4 separate regions of the Homo sapiens genome follow, and regions 2, 3 and 4 are each linked to region 1. Evidence: promoter capture Hi-C in human tissues and cell types (Jung and others, 2019). All regions are on one chromosome and are shown on one strand. The core of a region is centred on a gene start or on the middle of the fragment in contact, and the rest is flanking DNA. Distances in the headings are between cores, read along the strand shown.

The links. The method cuts DNA at HindIII sites, captures the fragments that hold promoters and counts their contacts. A contact is called where the count stands out against the background at its distance.
Region 2: a contact is called between the fragment with the promoter of ZMPSTE24 here and the fragment with the promoter of MFSD2A in region 1, in 1 of the 25 tissues and cell types used here (stomach).
Region 3: a fragment that was not itself captured here is called in contact with the fragment with the promoter of MFSD2A in region 1 in 1 of the 25 tissues and cell types used here (hippocampus).
Region 4: a fragment that was not itself captured here is called in contact with the fragment with the promoter of MFSD2A in region 1 in 1 of the 25 tissues and cell types used here (IMR-90 fibroblasts).

The regions. Positions count from the first base shown.
Region 1 is chr1:39,953,645-39,956,831 of GRCh38, forward strand. It overlaps MFSD2A (MFSD2 lysolipid transporter A, lysophospholipid), which reads left to right and starts at 1,501. Exons shown (of 14, transcript NM_032793.5): 1 at 1,501-1,741. The coding sequence starts at 1,649. RefSeq lists a silencer at 1,323-1,452. The HindIII fragment of the contact is 9,041 bases long and covers 1-3,187 here.
Region 2 is chr1:40,256,311-40,259,509 of GRCh38, forward strand. It overlaps ZMPSTE24 (zinc metallopeptidase STE24), which reads left to right and starts at 1,926. Exons shown (of 10, transcript NM_005857.5): 1 at 1,926-2,084. The coding sequence starts at 1,962. RefSeq lists enhancers at 1,157-1,286, 1,517-1,786, 1,867-2,146, 2,237-2,336. The HindIII fragment of the contact is 19,109 bases long and covers 1-3,199 here.
Region 3 is chr1:39,540,783-39,544,220 of GRCh38, forward strand. It overlaps the pseudogene PPIEL. Among named protein-coding and RNA genes, the nearest start is that of PABPC4-AS1, 23 kb to the right of the region's middle. The HindIII fragment of the contact is 4,869 bases long and covers 1-3,438 here.
Region 4 is chr1:39,629,276-39,632,351 of GRCh38, forward strand. HEYL (hes related family bHLH transcription factor with YRPW motif like) reads right to left here. Exons shown (of 5, transcript NM_014571.4): 3 at 2,221-2,304; 4 at 952-1,033. Among named protein-coding and RNA genes, the nearest start is that of HEYL, 8.8 kb to the right of the region's middle. The HindIII fragment of the contact is 5,291 bases long and covers 1-3,076 here.

The sequences.
Region 1 (3,187 bases), core at 251-2,750:
CTCATTGTCAACCGGGGGATACAGATCACTTGTGGTATGGTGTGACTGTGGGAGAGAAGATTTGGGGGCTGCAAGGGAGCTTAGCTAACCAAGCCTGGAGAGGGGAAAAGAGACAGAACAGTGTCACACAGCTTGGAGTAATGGGGCCAGCCATTCCCTTTCCACAGTATTCAGTGCCTCACTTTGGCTCTCTTCTGCTCAGCAATGGCCAAGAGCTGTGTGCCCAGATGGGATCTGCTGGCGTATGAGGGAGCATGGTGTGACCATCCTGGGGCAGATAGACCTTATCTCTCCTCCCTGCAATCAGAGATTTAAAGAAAGGAAGAAGGAGGCTGACATTAAGGAGCACAGGAACCGGGTGGGTAGCCTTTGAGAGTTCCAGCAGCCCCTTCACTAATCAGAGAACTGGAAAGACCGGGGTGACATTGACATAAGGGACTCAGAGGTGGAACTAAAGACTGTTCTTTTCTGGCATCCGTGCCTGCCTTCTGTTCCAAACTAATGCCCTCCCATCTTCTTTTGAGGACCACATTTCTGGGCATTCTCTTTTTCAAAACTTTCCCTGTTTCAACCCTCAGTGCCTCTGGAGCCATGTATCTCCCAGGGCTTCTTGTTGGGAGACACATACACCCCATTCTGCCGTCTGTAATTTATGCTAAGAGGGATAGAGCAGGGCTGTTGAGAGCAACTGCTTTGGTATCGGACAAAACCTTTCAGGCCTGGCTCTGCTACATAACAGTTGCTTCACTTCTCCAAGTTTCCCCTTCCTGTGCTGTAAAATGGGGATAATAATAGTACCACCCTCACTTGGTGGTTTTTGAGGGCCGAAAGAGATCATATTAAGCATGGAGGAAGCTATCCATAAAAAGGCCACTGTTGTCATAGTGTACTAGCGGGCGTAGCCCCGGCTTCTCTCCACGACTTGGGAGCTCCCTTCTGGCAGGGGCAGCCACTGGATTGCCTCATCTTTCTCCCCATTGCCCGGATGCCAAGGGCAGGACGGGGGAATGGTGTGTCTTCGGGGATGAGAGAGAGGCATCAGGAGGGAAAGTGTCAGCGTACGTCCTCTAGGCTTGAAGAAGGAGAGAGGCCCTGACTCCAGATTTTAAAGTGGGCTTCAGAGCCCCTACCTTTCCTAGGCCTGGGGCTCAGAAGTCATGGGTGGTAGGCCCGACTCGGGGAGAGTCGGACCTTGGGGACCTCGGGGACCTCGGGCAGATCGGGGACCCCGGGCAGATCACTTTCAGCCTGGGGCCTCGGTTTCCTCGCGCGTGTCTGGGAGGTCTCGCGGCCTGCTTCTCGGATTGCTAGGAGCCAGCGCAGGCAGATGCCGGTTCCGGGGCTTGGAGAACGTGGCTCGGTGGCACAGAGCCGCCGGGCGAGGCGGGGGCAGGGAGGCGGGCGACGGGATTGGCTGGAGGCGGGGCAGCGGGGCTCGGGGATTGGCCGCAACCGAGAGGGCTGGGCAGAACTATAAGAGGCGCGGAGGGGGCGTGCAGCAGAGTGCGTTCCTCGTCTGCCAGCCGGCTTGGCTAGCGCGCGGCGGCCGTGGCTAAGGCTGCTACGAAGCGAGCTTGGGAGGAGCAGCGGCCTGCGGGGCAGAGGAGCATCCCGTCTACCAGGTCCCAAGCGGCGTGGCCCGCGGGTCATGGCCAAAGGAGAAGGCGCCGAGAGCGGCTCCGCGGCGGGGCTGCTACCCACCAGCATCCTCCAAAGCACTGAACGCCCGGCCCAGGTGAAGGTGAGGGCCCGGCACCCCGCGTGGAGGGCGAGGGGAGGGAGGAGGCGGAAATGGGGGATCAGGGGCGTCCCGGGGTCGGCCTGGTCAGGGGACCATTGGGATAGCCAGGGACAGGAAGCCTACGAGCCAGAGAGGACCTGGGGGTGCCCTGGGACAGGGGGTGACGGAGAAAAGCTGTGGGCGCCCTCGCCCCCCTTTGCTCACCCGCACTCCACGCTCTGCGGAGAGGCTCTGCCGGCAGCCCCATGTGATTCCCCGCTCTGCCTAGCCGGTTTCCATTCTTCCGTGTTGAGCGGCTGGGGCTTGCCGCCCCAAACCCCAGAGATGACCCCAGAAATCTGGGAAACTCCCCTTGGTTCCCCATCTCTCATCCCCTACCTCCCACTCCACCCACCTACTCTTGCGCCTCAACTCTGCTGTTAGGGCCGCTCAAGTTCATTCATAAGAACAAGAGCTCTGCTCTTAAAGGAGCCGCGTCCCTCAGGCATTTGTCTGAATGTGGATGTTCGCGCGGGAACGGTGCTTTGCGCATCGAGACCATCGACCACATCCCCAGCCCTGGGGACTTATTGAAGGACCAAATAAAATGAGGCGGCCCCCTAGGAAAGGATCTCAGGCAATAGATACCTTCGTGGGAGGTGACTGCCTTTTCCTTTTAATTTTATTAACTGATCTTTGGAAGGAGCTGGGTGAGCAATTATGCTGTTACTATGTATGAGTAATATCTACTTTCCCTGGGCAACCCAACCTCCCTAGTGCCCCACCCGGAGAGGGATCAGGCCTGAACCTGGAGGCCTTTCCTCCCGTCTCCAAGGTCCTCTAGGAGCTCAGGGGTGGAGGGCGATGGGTCGGGAAGCTGGAGAGTAGGACAGTTCCTGGGTCCGCCTGAAGCTCTGGCTGCCTATAGTGGTCAGGGATGCTCTGGGATAGGTGGAACAGCTGCGCCTGCAGCCAGCTGGGCCGGGCCCCCGTAGCTCTCTAGAGCTCTCACCAGGAGTAGGCAGGTGGATCCTGTCTCTGAGGCAGGGTGGGAGCCTGGGCTGGGCTCAGGCAGCTCTTGGCAGCAAGCGGATTTTCAGGTTGTGGCAGCTGGTGCCGGGTGGGGACAGGTCGGCTGCTGGAGCATGCTCCCCCTGAAACCTGGAAAGGAGCAGTGCCTGAGGCCTTGGGAGGAGTTCTTTAGGGATGGTGGGCTGATAAGTTTCCTTAGAATCTCCAGGAGGGAGGTGGCTTAGGGGCTACTTTCACACAAGTATGGATTCCCCTTTTCCATGTTCCTAAGAATGGAGAACACCTTTCTTTTGTATAAAGTGGGATCTCGGAGATCGAGACCATGCTGGCTAACATGGTGAAACCCCGTCTCTACTTAAAATACAAAAAATTAGCTGGGTGTGGTAGTGGGTGCCTGTAGTCCCAGCTACTTGGGAGGCTGAGGCAGGAGAATGG
Region 2 (3,199 bases), core at 676-3,175, 300 kb after region 1:
TGTAAATACTGACATTTTAAGATAAAACTGTTAAATCACTCTTTATAATGTATCCAAGAGAATCTACATAACAACTGAATAACCACCATTATGCATTAAAACATACACTAATGAGCTCTTCAACATTGTTCTTTTATTATCTCTAACATATTTAGATTGTACTCTAACAAAAAATGTTATTCAAATATAGTACTTTGATGTTTGAACAACCTTTTCTTGATCACTTCTTCGCAATAAAAATATGACATATGTAGTAAACCTTAAAAAATTTCGTGTAACTTTATGGCTCTACGCTGGAATTCTTCTGAAGTGAGTAATCATCACAATCATCTTTAGTATATAATGGATCAAAATGACACGATTGCAAATATTGATAACACACAGTTATAAAAGGTGAAATTCTATTGGGAACACATCTCTTAGTGAGATAGATGGGGCTGACCCACCAATTAATTCATTTATCTGGATGAATAGTTCCTACTGGTAGATTAACAGGGTTCATTTTCAATTCTGTTGTTTTCACAGATACAAGTGCTGAGAAATGGTTTTACATAAATAGGTGAGAATGCTAGTAGTTTTGTTGTAAGCATGTCAATCAATCGTTTGGTTTCTTTCCGAGTTGCATGCCAAAAACCAAATAGTGTTCCTTCATCAGCTGACAATTCATGGGCCACCATTAATTTTGTTGAAAGCAAAGAACTGGAAACCATCTGACTTGAAAAGAATTTGTTATCCTGTTATTAGAGTCATTCACTTTCTCTAGTGACTTTTAATTATACTAATTACTCTCAGAGGCATTTAGGCAGGGTTGAGAAATTCAAGATATTAATTTCAACACATCTTTAGCATCACAATATCACAGTAATTTAAATATATTTTAGTTGTAGCTATTTAGCTCACTTTATTGTAAATAATAATTATGCTAATTAGCAACGATAGTATGTTTAACCAATTAATCATCAGATTAACTTTCGGTCAGAATAATGGACTTCAATTTTTAAGTCAAAGCAATGTACAGGCGTCCCAGTCACCATATTTCACTTCTGAATTCCAAGAGAGAAATGGCGTTGCGCCTTACTGACGCAAATATGTACCTAGATAAAGTAAGACGCTTTCATTTCAGGTATGTCTAACCCACGCTATCCTTGCTTTGTTCCAGGGCACTCTCGCAGGGAAAACGCCGCCTCTGACTACACTTGGGGTGGTTAAGACGAGATCTTCAAATGAAAATTCTCAACGCTACCGTCCACTCTCTCATACGCTTGAATTCCGAACACCCCAATACTGGCCAAAAGACTCCATTTCTCATGCTTGGTCTTGCTTTTGAGGTAGCTCTAACTCAGAGGCACGATTTTTAGAGCCTGGGAAGTCGGCTGCTGTTCAGTCCTTCCTAGCCTCCTCAGGCGGGAGCCGCGGCCCACTCAGTCAGTTGCGGCCCACTCAGTCAGTTCCGGCCCCAGCCCCGACTACCTGTCGCCTTGTTGGGGGAAGGAAGGCAGATACCGCAGCCCAGTCAGGGTAAGCCGCTGACCCAGAGGATGGAACTGCGGCTCTGGAGATTAGAAAGAGGAGGACTTCGCCGCGTTCACTAGCCCAGGAGGAAAGCCAGAACCCTAGGCCGGAACCCAGCGTCAAGACGTGGGGGAAGAATGTTGATGCAACACAGCTCAGCCGGGCCCGGAACTCGGCGTTTGGGTCCCCGCCCTCTTTGGGCCGGAAGTGAGGAAGGTGGGGCTGGGGCTTTTCCTGTAGAAACTAGGAGGGACTAGGGAGAGTCTGCAAGGGGAAGAGTGTGTCTGTGACACTGCCAGCAGCGCGCAGAGGGAGGGATGGGGGCGGGTATCGGCGTAGGGGCCCTCGGAAAGAACGGATATTGCTGTGACACCGCGGGGACGCTCTGAAGGGACGAGTGTCGGTGTGGCACCGGTGCACGCTGAAGGAGCCGGCGGAACCGGGTGGCCATGGGGATGTGGGCATCGCTGGACGCTTTGTGGGAGATGCCGGCCGAGAAGCGTATCTTCGGGGCCGTGCTGCTCTTTTCCTGGACAGTGTATCTTTGGGAGACCTTCCTAGCACAGCGGCAGGTGAGCCTAGACAGGGTCCAACCTGACCCCCATACCCGGCCAGCCCTGGAGTAGCCTTGGCTTCGACCCTGAGACTCTTGATTGCTTCGGTCCCCGCGCCAGTCTCGTCTTTGTGGTCCCTGCTGAGTCTCGTAACTTGGCCCGATGGCGGACTGTGGCTTTGAGGAGGGTCTTGGTGCGTCAAGGAAGTTTTCTGTAACGTTATCATGGGACCCAATCCCTTTAGGGCCTGGAGGAAGGCTTGGGCTCTTGTGCCCTCCCTGCAGCTTCCTTGGGATCCTTGGGCCCAGACTTGGCCTCCTTTATCTTTGGAATAAGCCTTTAAAAGGATTTAGACACCCAACTTCCTCATGACATTTATGTAATCATGCCTAACCATAGGATTTTGCAGTCCTTCCAAGAACTTGCACTCTTGTTTCTCCTTAAAGTGCATATATTGTTTCTGCTTGAAAAAACAAACAAACAAACAAAAAACTTATCGGGCCCGGCGTGGTGTCTCATGCCTGTAATCCCAGCACTTTGGGAGGCCGAGGCGGGCGGATCACCTGGGGTCAGGAGTTCGAGACCAGCCTGACCAACGTGGCGAAAACCCGTCTCTACTAAAAATAGAAAAATTAGCCGGGTGTGGTGGCGCGCACCTGTAGTCCCAGCTACTTGGGAGGCTGAGGCAGGAGAATCATTTGAACCCAGTAGGCGGAGGTTGCAGTGAGCTGAGATTGTGCCACTGCACTCCAGCCTGGGCGACAAGAGTGAAACTCAATCTCAAAATAAATAAATAAATGAAATTAAATGAAATATATTTCTCGTTTTTCATAAAATCAACATTATTTTAGTTTAAATATTAAAATGGTAAAATAAAAAGTGAAAGTTAACAATTTACCTGAGATAACCATGGTTTAGAGATCTGAACTTTTATTTATTTATTTTTAATCTTTATTTATTTATTTAATTTTAGAGTCTAGCTCTGTCACCAGGCTGGAGTACAGTGGCGTTATCTCGGCTCACTGCAAGAAACTAGGAGGGACGAGGGAGAGTCTGCAAGGGGAAGAGTGTGTCTGTGACACTGCCAGCAGCGCGCAGAGGGAGGGATGTTCAAATGATTCTCCTGCCTCAGC
Region 3 (3,438 bases), core at 791-3,290, 410 kb before region 1:
CTCAGGGCTGTGCTTTTCTCTAGCACACAGAGTTCTGCACTACGTAAGAAGGAGCACGAGAGAGGCAGCGGGATCCTTGGCAAGAGGAAGGAGAGTGCATGCAGCGACGGCGCGTGAGATGTGAGTGAGGCAACAGGGCAGTGTGGTGTGGGTGGATGGGCAGCGCATCTATGAGTCTAGGACACGTGCCAACCATGAAAAGCCCCAAAAGGATGACGTGCTGTCACATGAGGAAATCTGAATATGCACTGCAGTTGAGAGAATAGTATTGTAGCAGTGTTTGTTTTCTGATTTTGAGAACTATGTCCTGGTAACATTAAAAATACCCTGTTTCTTATGAAATACATGCTGAAGTATTTAGTGGTAGAGGAACATGAACTCTCCAACTTACTTTCAAATGGCTCTAAAAAAATACGCACTGTCTATAAAAATACACAGAAGGAGAATAAATAGGAAATGATGTTCACCAATATAAACAACTGGTGAACTTGAGTAAATGCCAGCAAAGGTGTATGGGGTTCATCGCACTATTCTTGTAACTCTTCCGTGAGCTTGACATTACATAAAATAAAAAGTTACAAAAACAATAACAAGACACCCCTGTAGGAGCAGACCCAGGCGTCTATGCTTCTTCCTCTTTTAATGAAAGGAGACAAATGGGAACTGAAATAACCCAAAATAAAAAACAGAAAAGCTTTTCAAAGCCCAAAGCTAACTCCACCCTAGCAAGGCTGAACGGTTCTCCTGTGTCTGGTAGCTGGGTCTCCTCCAGATTCCCTGTTTCTCAGCCAGAACCACGGCTCATCCTTCCACCCTGCACGGCCAGCTGCCCTCGCCCAGCCTCCCTTGTCACCACACGATGAGTGGTTCCTACCTGGTCCTGTGTGTTTGAAGATAAAGTTTTCATCATCAAATTTCTTCTTGTAGATGGACTTACCCCTGGTGCCACCGTGGTTTGTGAAATCACTGCCCTGGCAAATGAACTGGGGGATAATGCGGTGGAAGCTGCTTCCCTTGAAGCCGAGTCCTTTAAATGGGTGCACATGTAGAGAAAATTCTCTGGGATTGAGAAAGAGAAAAGTGCTGAGGTAAGAATATCTAACTAGATAATTAAAACTCCAGCTCTCTGTAACATGCCATCTCTACAAAAATAAAAATAATCATTTGGGTCCCAGCCACGGTGGCTCATGCCTGTAATCCCAGCACTTTGGGAGGCCAAGGTGGGTGGATCACCTGAGGTCAGGAGTTCGAGACCAGCCTGGCCAACATGGCAAAACCCCATCTCTACTAAAAATACAGAAACTAGCTAGGCATGGTGGCACACTCCTAGGTGACAAAGTGAGACCCTGTCTCTGAAATAAAATACACACACACCCCCAAACTCCAGCTCTCCAAATCTAAAAAAGTACATAGTACCTTTATTTAAACTAAATGCTTAAGTGTGGAAGTGGCACACAAATAGATAGAACAGACTAGGTGAAAAGAAGAGAAAGTCCCGAATAGACCCAGAAACGTATGAAAATTCAGTATTTCAGCTAGGCATGGTGGCTCACATCTGTAATCTCAGTACTTGGGGAGGCCAAGGCAGGAGGATTGCCTGAGCAGAGGAGTTGGAGACCAGCCTGGGCAACACGGCAAGACCTCATCTCTATTAAAATATATACATAGGCCAGGTGCGGTGGCTCGGGTCTGTAATCCCAGCACTTTGGGAGGCCGAGGTGGGTGGATCACCTGAGGTCAGGAGTTCAAGACCAGCCTGACCAATGTGGTAAAACCCTATCTCTAATAAAAATACAGAAAATTAGCTCGGCATGGTGGCATGTGCCTGTAATCCCAGCTACTCGGGAGGCTGAAGCAGGAGAATCACTTGAACCCGGGAGGCAAAGGTTGCAGTAAGCTGAGATCATGCCATTTTACTCCAGCCTGGGCAACAAGAGTGAAATTCCGTCTCAAAAAAAAAAAAAATATATATATATATACACACACACACACACACACATATACAAAAATGTATATATATGTGTATGTATGTATATGTGTGTGTATATATGCATATATATGTGTGTGTGTGTGTGTGTGCGTGTGTATATATATATATATATATAAAGGAATTAAATATTTCATAAAGCTTGGCATCTTAAATCACTGGGTCAAAGATGGACTTTCTATAAACTGGTCTTAGGACAACTGAATAAACATTTGGACTCCCCCACCCAATTATGCTAGGCAGCGATGACCTGAGAAGGTATATAATGACCAGGAGCTCAAATCCCCACAGACAAAGGTCTAGGTCACCCCACCTGATAAGCCATTTAGATTAGCAGAGGAACCAGCTGAGGTGAGGATGAGAGGTATCTAAAATGGATAGCAGAGGAGGGAGGCCAGGCGCCGTGGCTCACACCTGTAATCTCAGCGCTTTGGGAGGCAGAGGTGGGTGGATCACCTGAGGTCAGGAGTTCAAGACCAGCCTGGCCAACATGGTGAAGCCCTGTCTCTACTAAAAATATAAAAACCAGCTGGGCATGGTGGTGGGCGCCTGTAATCCCAGCTACTCGGGAGGCTGAAGCAGGAGAATCACTTGAACCCGGGAGGCGGAGGTTGCAGTGAGCCAAGATCATGCCATTGTACTCCAGTCTGGGATTACTAATAGTAATATGAGTATATTTTTCAGAGACATAGCAATAAAAGCCCAAATAATTAAAATAGTTAAAAGAAATGAATGTTGCCTCTGGCAGGGCAGAAAAATTATGTTGGGGGAGCAGAAGAATGTTTTATTATAGAACGATTTTCTTTAAACTATGTGCAATTATGACTTTAAGAAACATTTTTAAAAGCTAGATTAAGACAAAAAAGATTATGGGTAAAAAAAGGTCATCATGAATACTTAAGAAAAAAAGGAAAACACAACTGTCAATTGTAGCTACCTCTGGGAGATGGGCTGAATAGTAAGGAGAGAAAGTTTTAGTTTCTGATTGATACCCTTAAAAATAGTACTTTTCTGGCTGGGTGCGGCCGCTCATGTCTGTAATCCCAGCATTTTGGGAGGCCGAGGTAAGAGGATCACTTGAGTCCAGTTCAAGACCAGACTGGACAACATGGCAAAACCCACCATCTCTACAAAAAAAAATACAAAAGGGCTGGGTGCGGTGGCTCATGCCTGTAATCCCAGCACTTTGGGAGGCCGAGACGGGCAGATCACAAGGTCAGGAGATCGAGACCATCCTGGCTAACATGGTGAAACCCCGTCTCTATTAAAAATACAAAAAAATTAGCTGGGCGTGGTGGTGGGCACCTGTAGTCTCAGCTAATTGGGAGGCTGAGGCAGGAGAATGGCGTAAACCTGGGAGGCGGAGCTTGCAGTGAGCCAAGATTGCGCCCCTGCACTCCAGCCTGGGCAACAGAGCAAGACTCCGTCTCAAAAAAAAAAAAAAAAAAATT
Region 4 (3,076 bases), core at 247-2,746, 320 kb before region 1:
AATTTGAATCTCCCCCATTGGTTCATTAGAGATGGAAGTCTCCACTCTTAGCAATGCATTTTTTTTGGCAGAAGTTCCCAAATGGACCACCTGCACCAGGATAATTGGGTGGCTTGTTAAACTTGCAAACTCCTAAACTTCAATCTAGACCTACTGCCTCAGAATCTCTGGGGGATGACTCCTGATTCTGCCTGCCCCAAGGTGACAATGGTATACACTGAGGCTTCAGAAGCACCAGAATGGGCCACTTAAAATGCTACTGTCCTCTTCTGTAGCAGTAAGTTAGGTCTCTGGAACTTAGGTCTTTGTGGCCAAGGCCTGTGGAGCTTTCAAGGTTTCCCAATTTTGAAATCACCAAATACACAGAGAAACTTTGAGTAGACAGAATTTCTATTTGTCTGGAAGTGTCTTTAAAGCCACTGTTCCCTTACTTTATTGTAACTGATGGGCTTAAAATAACAAAATGAGTTAATTTGTGTCCTGCTACAATCCTGAGACCTGTGGTGAGCATGATATGTCACCCCAGTTCTGCCAAGGACCCCACAGTAGCCCAGAAGGCTAGACCAGTGGGTAGGATACCAGGCTCCTCCCTGGGTTAAGGGGGGTCAGATTGGGATCCCAGTGAGAATTAGCTCATTCAGGTGAATTCTTAATGAGGTCCTGGGTTGGACAAGAGTGGGACCCATAGGAACAGTCTGTTACAGAAGAAAGCGCCTCCCAGGTCTAAGACTGGAGGGAGCTGAACTGAGGAAAAGGTTGCGACAAATGGAGACACTGAAAGTGGAGAGGGAGATGCTGAAAGGAGAGAGAGAAGCTTTGCAAATGTTCCCTCCATTGACTGAGCTCCTCAGAGTGGGCAGCGTGTGGACTTTGCTCACCAGCATATCCCCAGGGCCCAGCCTCAAAATATTTGTTGTATGAATGACGCCTGAAAGAGAAGAGCATGGGTACCTGTCCCACCAGTGGCATGGAGCATTTTCAAGTGATCCACCGTCATCTGCAAGACCTCGGCTTTCTCCAGCTTGGAAGAGCCCTGCGGGTACAGAAGACAGAAGGGTGGAGCCTGCAGCTGACCATGTAGCTGTGCGGTGTCATCAGCACTCACTGTCTCGATTTTCTCACCTTCCTCCCACTCCACTGCTGCCTGCAAATGGGCTTCTGCTTTGGCCAAGTTCTCCAAATCTAGAACATTCTTTTCAGTTCTCCTCTCAGACCATCTGTCCACTGTACAGCTGCCGATCATCTTTCCTGAAACCACTCCTCCCTTGACTTGCACGACACCACTGTTTCTGGGCTCTCCTTTCACCATGCCTCTTGATCTGCCGTCTCTTAACACAGTACTGTCCCTTCTGTGTCACTTCGCATTCTGCTGCTCCCTGCAGAGAGGCTTGTCACCTCCATGGCTTTAGCCACCATCCTCAGAATGCCTCTTAAACCAGCTCTTCAGGGAATCCAACTTCAGACTCAATGTGCCCAAGATCTAGCTCATCATCTTATCCCCAGACCACTTGTTCTTCCTCTTTTCTCTCTTGGGAAATGCTTCCTAAGCTTTCCAGGTGAAGCCTGAAGATCAGAGGCTCCATGGGAGTCCCTTGAGGGCAGATACTAGGTCTAGTTCATGGCTGGTCCTGTGATGGTTTTAGTGAACATCTGTGGGATGACTGACTTGTTCTCACCAGCATAAAGGAAGGCAGAGGACCCGTGACCTATGCCTTGGTGCATAGGGTGAGAATTTCTGAGGCTGAGTCCACTGTCTGATTCCCCGCTGTAGTTCCCCCACCTAACATGCTCAATGGTAGAGTGCTCACTCCCTGAGCAGCCTTTTCCACTTTCAAGTCACTCTAGAAATGTCTGTAGTGCAGAGGGATGAGGGCTTGAGAATCACACAGTCCTGTGCCCTGCTATTTACTAGCTGCGTGATCTGGTGTAAGTTACTTCACCTCTCTGTGCTTCAGTTTCTTTACCTGTGCCATGGGCATAATAATCCCTAACCTTTGGGATCATTTTGAGGAGTCAATTCAATGGGATGATAGACATAAAGACACCTGAGACACCTAAGTATAAATTTCCATTCCTTTTACCCTGGCCAGTGACAGATATTGGTAAATGATCACAGCATCTCAGGCAGCTGCTACCAATCAACAAGAGATGCCATGAGAAACGAACCTTATCTGCCACCCACACAGTATTTCCTCTAGCACAATCAGCAATGTCACATACCTGTTTCTCAAAGGCAGTGGGGACCAAGCGTCGCAATTCAGAAAGGCTACTGTTGATGCGGTCTCGACGCCGTTTCTCTATGATCTAAACAATCATGACAAGAAGTTACTCACAGGTGTGTCATCACAGTTTCCAAAGTGCCTTGATGGTCATCAACTCATATTTACCCACACAGTATTTTTGTGAGGGAGATCAATCTAGTCTTACTTTATGGTGGAGAAAACCAAGGCCCAGAGAAGGACAGTGATTTGCTTAAGGTCACACAGCAAGAAAGCGCAGAGCTGGGAGTACAACTCAGATCTCTTGTCTCGGTCTATAGGGGTGATATTCAAGATGTTTAACCACTGGTACAGCAGGGCACAGCCAATCACAATGAGGACACCAGCCACGGTGCTGGAGCAGGCCCTGGAGGCCCGTGCTGGGCCAGGAGGGTGACCCCGTCATCTGTGAGGTCATGAGATGGTTTGGGGAGTCCCACGTGTTGCTCTCTCTAGCTGCAGGGCCCTTCCACCCACACACTCTCATTCTTCCCTCCAATACTGGTAGCAGAACACCGGGAGCAGGACAGATATGACCCCATTTTACAGATAAGGAAAATGAGGGCTGGAAGGAAGTGGTTTGCCTAAGGGCTTACAGTCAGTGAGTGTCAGGCTGCTCTCTGCCAGACCCCAGGTGTCTGGACTCCCAGTGCAGAAACACAGCTGCATCCTGGGAGGAAAGTGGGGCTGAACATGATGGACAGATGACAGCGGCAAGTGGGGATCCTTCTTCTGTCCCCTCCCCCACCCCGGCACACTGAGGGGGATGAAAGTTCTGGACTCAGAGAGGAGACAGAAGATAGGAACAACAATCATAA